Regions from separate parts of the Homo sapiens genome. Here region 2 is linked to region 1. The links are contacts of gene promoters, found by promoter capture Hi-C in human tissues and cell types (Jung and others, 2019). All regions are on one chromosome and are shown on one strand. The core of a region is centred on a gene start or on the middle of the fragment in contact, and the rest is flanking DNA. Distances in the headings are between cores, read along the strand shown.

What was found. The method cuts DNA at HindIII sites, captures the fragments that hold promoters and counts their contacts. A contact is called where the count stands out against the background at its distance.
Region 2: a contact is called between the fragment with the promoter of SCAPER here and the fragment with the promoter of UBE2Q2 in region 1, in 2 of the 25 tissues and cell types used here (IMR-90 fibroblasts and hippocampus).

The regions. Positions count from the first base shown.
Region 1 is chr15:75,842,197-75,845,674 of GRCh38, forward strand. It overlaps UBE2Q2 (ubiquitin conjugating enzyme E2 Q2), which reads left to right and starts at 1,251. Exons shown (of 13, transcript NM_173469.4): 1 at 1,251-1,650. The coding sequence starts at 1,471. RefSeq lists silencers at 832-1,011, 1,052-1,191, 1,332-1,411, 1,662-2,061 and an enhancer at 1,333-2,230. The HindIII fragment of the contact is 12,421 bases long and covers 1-3,478 here.
Region 2 is chr15:76,903,941-76,907,397 of GRCh38, forward strand. It overlaps SCAPER (S-phase cyclin A associated protein in the ER), which reads right to left and starts at 1,400. Exons shown (of 32, transcript NM_020843.4): 1 at 1,359-1,400. RefSeq lists silencers at 976-1,055, 1,076-1,185, 1,196-1,505 and an enhancer at 1,246-1,746. The HindIII fragment of the contact is 13,869 bases long and covers 1-3,457 here.

The DNA.
Region 1 (3,478 bases), core at 1-2,500:
TGGGAGCACTGTGCAACTACATAGGTTGGACGCATATGCAGCTGGTCCTGCCTCTTGCACTTACGATTGCACACACTATTGTCTGCCAAATTGGGATGTATTCCTTTGGACTGCTATCCAGACCTTTATTCATTTTTTGAGCACCTACAATGTGCCAGGAATTGTGCTAGTGGTGGGGATTCCAGATAAGAGCGAGCATTCAATTCAATCATATCGGGTTTCTACTATATAACAGGTCTTGTTCTAGGTCCTGGGGATACAGCTCTGAACACATTAACACGGGGCAGAGACAAGGAATAAATGGGTTAAAGATCAGATAGTGACAGGTGCCCAACAAAAACTTAGCACAGGACGATGTGACACAGGGTGACTATTTGAAATGGGTTGTGGTGGGGGGTGCCGGAGATGATATTTGAGCTATGAGTTTAGTGAAAATAGTGGGCAGCCCTAGCTCCATGGGGGTGTGGGTGGGGAGGGTTATCTTAAGCTTGGGAAACAAGGCAAAATAAGGAAAGGGGGGAGAGAGAGACTATATACGGCAGAGTGAACACAGGTGGTAGCTAAGGGAAGGGATGAAATCATGGGACACCTCCAGGCAACAGCCTCCAGGGGCTAAACCATCGTCTTGGGTAAATGGATGGTTTGAGAGCAAAGGCGGGAGCAGCGAGTCCGGTGAGAAGGTCCTCACAGGAACCCAGGCTGGTGAGAAGGTCCTCACAGGAACCCAGGCTAGCGAAGCGGTGGCTCGGACTAGGGTGAAAGTAGCGGAGGTAACGCTGGGTGAGCCGCACCCGCGTCTCCCACGAGGTCCCCCCAGTGAGGTTAGCGGGTGCCGCGCCGAGCGCCAAGCTGAGGAGCCGCCCCCAGGGGCTGGCGCTAGTCTGCAGCGGCGCCGACGTGGCCGGCGCGATCCGCCACGCACGTGTCCGGCTCCAGGCCGGGGGCGGGGGCGCGCGGGGGTCTCCGGCTCCTCCCCGACTTCTGGGGCCCGGGCGCCAGCTGGCCCCGAGCCTCCAGTCCGCGGGTGCGAAGAACGGAGCAGATGGGTCGGGAACAAGGGAGCTGGGTCAAGGCGAGGAGGGGGCGGCCGGGCGCGCGCGCTCTGGCCTCGTGCACGCGCTGAAACCGGAGCGCGCAGGGCGCGCCAGGGTGAGGGGGACGGGGGCGGGGTGGGGGCAGCCCTTTCCCAGGCGGTAGCGGGGGCGGCGTCGCTGTTGCCCTTTTAAGCCGCGGGGCCGCCGCCTCCTGCCGCTGGAGTCGGTTACAAAGGAAGCGCCACCCAGGCCGCCACACGCCGAGGCTTCCGCGCCCCTCGCCATTTTCCAGCAGCGCTCGACGAGGCGGAGCCGCGAGAGCGCGGCCCAGGCCGGCCCCGCGGGGCGGTCGCGGCCGTGACGGCGGCTCCGGGCCCGGCTCCCCTTCCGCGCCCGGCTCCCCTTCCGCGCCCCTCCCGCCGGAGATGAGGGGAAGATGTCCGTGTCAGGGCTCAAGGCCGAGCTGAAGTTCCTGGCGTCCATCTTCGACAAGAACCACGAGCGATTCCGCATCGTCAGTTGGAAGCTGGACGAGCTGCACTGCCAGTTCCTGGTGCCGCAGCAGGGCAGCCCGCACTCGCTGCCGCCGCCACTCACGCTCCACTGCAACATCACGGTGAGGCGCCCGGCCGCGGCCCCGCGGGGCAGGGCGAGGACGGAGAGGGGGCGCTTCGAGTCCCGGGACAAAGGGGAGCCTGCCCCGGAGAGGCTCCGGCTCCCCGGGCGGGGCAGGCCCGCCCCTTTCCCCCGCGACTTGCCCATCCCAGGCCGGGCTGGGACTGCGCGAGGCTTGGGTGGGAGGAGGCGGAGGGCGCGTCTTTCCGGCTTCTCGCCAGGGGCTGGCTTGGGGGCTTCTGGCCCATCTCGGTCCCCGTCTCCTAGCCCCGAGGGGGGAGTCCGCGGCGGCCCAAGCCCTTGTGGGGTCCATGGCCGCCCTCAGCCGGCCTGCTCCCGGGACCGGGGCGGGGCGGGGCGGGGCGGCGCAGCTCCGGCTGTTGTTTGAGCCCAGGCCGGCAAGGGGAACGGCCCTTAAGTTTTAACGCCTCATTTTTCAGTCGGATTTTCCTTCTTCCCGCTTGTTCAGCCAATTGTTTTTAAGTTTGCGTTTAAGGAGAAACTGACAATGAGAATGGACTCGTTGACGGAGGAAAAGTTGGAATGCAGACTCTGGTGCTGTTTGAGCGACCCCTCTCCCCCGGGCCTGGCTGCGCGCTGCTGTGTTCTGGAAAGGAGCATAGTACCGTCGTTGCGGCAGGTGGTGTTGAGTGTGTATTCGTGTGGCCCCTCCCTTGTGTGTAAGCCTCGAAAATGGATAGGTGAAAGGAGATACGCGCCAGGGCTGCTCCCCGGAAAGATCACGTATGTCACAAAGCCGAAAAGACACTTTTAAAAACTCACTCATTAAGCGGAAATCTCATTAGAAACCCAAGGCTTGGTAAAGGAATTGAAGTATTAAGTTTCTCCATAAAAGTGTATCGTGAAGCTATTCGTCGTGAAATTGATGTAGGATATTGGTCCAAACTGCAGAATATTCTCTTGGTTATAATAGGCGTCAAGGTGGTGGCTTCGGGCTCCTTTTCAAACATGGCTAAAACCAAGTCTTGTTTTTAACTCCCTTTGGTTGAGTCAGTGGGTACTCAAGTGCCTGCAGGGTGGCTGGCGTTTGCAAAAACCTTGATGTTATAATTGACCTTAAAATGGTTACCAGACTATCTGGGCAGAAGGTGTGTTAATTTCAAAAAAAAAAAGACAAGTGCTGTACTGAGGAGATAATTCATTTATTGAATGAATACGTCTGAGTGTTCTGGGCACTAGTGTTGCAGAATTGAGTGAAGTCGTCCTCGCTCTCAGAACTCAGTCTTCTTGGGGGAAGAGTTCAATAAGGTGACAGCTCCTGTGGTATCATCAGGAAAGCCAAAGCAACTAATTTTGACTTGGGGGAGGTGCGCTTCAGGGAAGGCTTTGATGAGAGGCTGAGACAGTTAGAGATGAGCTTCCACAGGTGACTACAATTTTGGAAGGCTGGCGGAAGGGCATTTTAGACTGAGGAAACTCCACCCAAAGAAGACACGGAGATTTGAGAAAGTGTGGTTTCCTTAGAAGTAGAAAATTTATGCTAAGACTTGAGAAGCCCACGATACAGGCTGGAGAAGGGGAGGATTTTCCAAGAGTGGAAAACAGAAAGTGTAGTAGTTGTCATGAAGCAGGTGTTTTAAGGAGACGGGCCTGAATGGCTTCGAGGGTGATTACTCTGGTAGAAGTTGGGGCATGGCCACGAAAAGGTAGGGCTGGTTTGAATGATAGGAGACTGAATTTGTAGGCTGTGGGGAGCTACTAAGTTTACTCAGGTAAGTTGGGAGAATGTATCTTTCATCCAGGATTAGAAATGGTTCTCTACAGTGGGTGGCATTAGGAAATGTGGTTATCCCAGTGGGGGTGGGGTG
Region 2 (3,457 bases), core at 150-2,649, 1.1 Mb after region 1:
CAGTCTGCCTTCAAAGCCATCAGATTACTTCTCCCACAGACAACCTTCCAAATCACATTAAAACTTGACTCTTTGATTGATTAAAAATATTAATTCTTTAGTGGATATCATTCTTCAAGTGGCATAAATCATCTGCAACCAACAAACTTTGAGGAAAAGTCATAGTTAACAGAAATAACAGAAGGGAAAGAGCACCAGTATAGGCCAGAGTGGGACAGTGGTCAGACTACCAACCTTAGGTCAGAAAACTTAACCCCAGATTTACCACTCACCAGCTGGTGATCTAAGGCAAGTAATAACCTTTTGAGCCCCCGTTTCTCCATTCATAAAATAAGTATTACTCCTAGCCCATCCATCCTTCTACCAGATTATTTATGAAGATGAAAAGTTAATGATGAAATTAATCCATAAACTAAGACAAACTATAATTCATATAAGGAATTAGTATCTGTTCGGTAAAATGACTATTAATGAATAGCTATTTTCATGGAAAATAACTTGTCACAACTAGAATAAGAGATGCAGTCCACCAGCAACAGGAAGCTGCTCACAAACAGGCGGCCTCATCTCAGCTGGGGCCCCCTTAACAGCAGCAGGTGTTGCTTACAGGACCAGTTTTGTGCCTGCTTTCTAACAATCCCGTTCCTCCCTGGTGCCGTTCCCACGAACGCGCCTGGAAAACGGTGTAGAGGAAAGGCGCCAAGGAAGTGCTGTTTTGGAAAAGAGCAGCAACAGAGGCAGGAGGCTGGGTCCCACTACTCCCAGGTGCGAGAGGCTCTTCGCCCCTCCAGGCCTCAGCGCACGCATCTGGAAGACGGAGAGGCCATTCCTGCCCCGTTTCCTGGGCAGAGCTAAGATCAGAGTACAGGGAAAGCATGGTAAACCCCGCTGGGAATGACAGATGACGAAGACGATCACCTGTCAAACGAAGGGAGGCTCCTCCAGGGGCCCCTCGCATTTAGACATTCCAGAAGCCTCGTCACCCGCGGCCGGGGCTGCCCCCAAGTGAGGTGACGCGGCAGCCCCCCACTCACCCCTCAGACCGCGTAGTGTGCGGGGTCTCACGTCCCTCACACCCCAGATGAGCCCGCAGGGCAGGGCCCGGACGCGGCTCACCCCAGCCCCCGTCCCGAGGCCTCCGAGGCCGACCTCCGAGCCCTCCCCAGGCGACCGCGGCTCCCCTCCCCCAGCAACGATCCCTGCCCCGCTCAACTCGCACTCCCAGGTGAGGGGAGGGGGTGAAAGGGCGTACCCCGCCGCCATTTTGTCCCCTGGTCCCCGCAAGGCATTCAGACGGCCCGCGCCCCAACCCGGACCCGCCCGGGTCTGCGCTACGCACGCCCCTCGCGGACACTCACCCCCGACCGCCCTGCTTAGTTCGGGGCGGCTCAAAGCGTCCCGCCGGGAAAGGGGCGTGACGGGGCGGGGCAGGGAGGCCTCGGAGAGGCGGGGTGGCTTCCCGGCGCACCACGTGATCTCAGCCGCTGCCGCGCCGCTCCCGGCTGCAAGATCTGTGTTGTCCGCGCGCAGGCGCACGCCCGTTCGCGCCGTTGGGGCGCCCAGGCGGGAGGTGTGAGGGTTGATTTGGTTCGATGTCCCGGCGCGGCGTTTCCGAAGCTGTTTCTTTTCCTAGGTTAAGCTTACACCGCCGCTTTTGGCCACACAGGTCTTTCTCGTACTCAATCTCTTCCCTCCTCCTGCCTTATCACCACAGTCAATCCACAGATTAAGGACTTAGAGACGCGCCTCACAGAAATCTGTGCTGGCGAAAGCACTTGACAGGAGCACGCTGGGCTGCGCTGAACACAACTAGGCCTCCGAGAAGCTTTATCAGGGCCCTTCTGTGTGCCAGGCTTGGAAGGTCGAAGTACAGAGACCTAACAAATACGTTTCATCTACTTCAAAGACAAACATATGATGAATTAAATACTTTAACGTTTAAATCAGTCTGAACAAAATAGAAAAAAGATTCAATGCAGACTGTAATTATCAAACGAATATTCACCGTCCCTTTTCATCCAGCTGGGAAACAGCTCTTTACCCTTCCCTCTCCCTCCCCACCCGCAGTAGGCGGGAAGTCCTGGACTCACAAGCGTTGTGGGGGCAGGAACCATATGGCTATGTTCTGGCTCCCCTTCTCTCTTGCCTTCTTAGAAAACTCGCTTTTTCATTTATTCAGCAAATGTTTATTGACCACATACTATATATCAGATGGTATTCTAGATGCTTGGAGTTAATACGTGAGCAAAATAAACAGAAATCTCTAAAAAACCTCCGGCTTCTTGGAGCAGGGTGAAACCAGGCAAGTGTTACATCAAGTTTAGCCAAAAGCTGTGTCCTTACATATTTTAAGTTCAGCCTGAAGGTTTCTCCGTAAATAGTAAACTATAACCTAAATGGAGGTGTAAATACACTGCAACCTACTCTTGCGCCAATCACCAAGTTTTGGCCAAAGACGGCCAACTGTTCAAACCGTGTTCAAATAAGGTAAACGTCTAGCTATAACCATTCTGGCTGTTTCCCTACCTCACTTTTCTTTCTCTGTCTATAAACCTTTTTCCACCATGTGGCTCTGCGGGAGTCTGTATGAACCTACTCTGGCTCAGGAGGCTGCCTGATTCGGGAATAATTCTTTGCTCAAACTCTGTTTAATTTGGCTAATATTTTGCTTTTAACACAAGAAATAGTAAACACAATAAATAAGTAAATTATATAACATGATAAGCACTACAGTTAACAAAATGAGTAGGATAAGGGGGATAGAGTAGGGAGCATACTACAATTCTATAAAAGGCGGTCAGGGCCTCATTTCTTAATTATCCCCACTTCCTTTCATACTCATAAGCATGTAAACAACCTGAAGTCTCTCCCATCTTGAAATCTCCCGCCGAACCTACCAGACTCCACTTCAACCTCTGCTTTCTTTCCTATAATACATTTCTCCAATTATCTAAACAAGAGTGCCTCCAATTCCTCAACCACTACTCAAGTCTGGACTTACTGCACTCTGGTTTCTGCCCCACCACCCCACTGAAACCATTCTTTCCAACATCACTAGGGGCCAGCCGCCGTGGCTCGCGCCTGTAATCCCAGCACTTTGGGAGGCTGAGGCAGGTGGATCACCTGAGGTCAGGAGTTCAAGACCACCCTGGCCAAAATGGCGAAACCCTGTCTTTACCAAAAATACAAAAAAAAAAAAAAAAAAAATAGCCGGGTGCGGTGGCGCACACCTATAGTCCCAGCTACTCGGGAGGCTGAGGCACGAGAATCCCTTGAACCTGGATAGCAGAGGTTTGCAGTGAGCTGAGATCATGCCACTGCACTCCAGCCTGGGTGACAGTGCGAGACTCCATCTCAATTAAAAAAAAAAAAAAAAAAAAAGTTGGGCTGGGCTGGTGGCTCCCGCCTGTAATCCCAGCACTTTGGGAGGCCGAGGCAGGCAGATCACGAGGTCAGG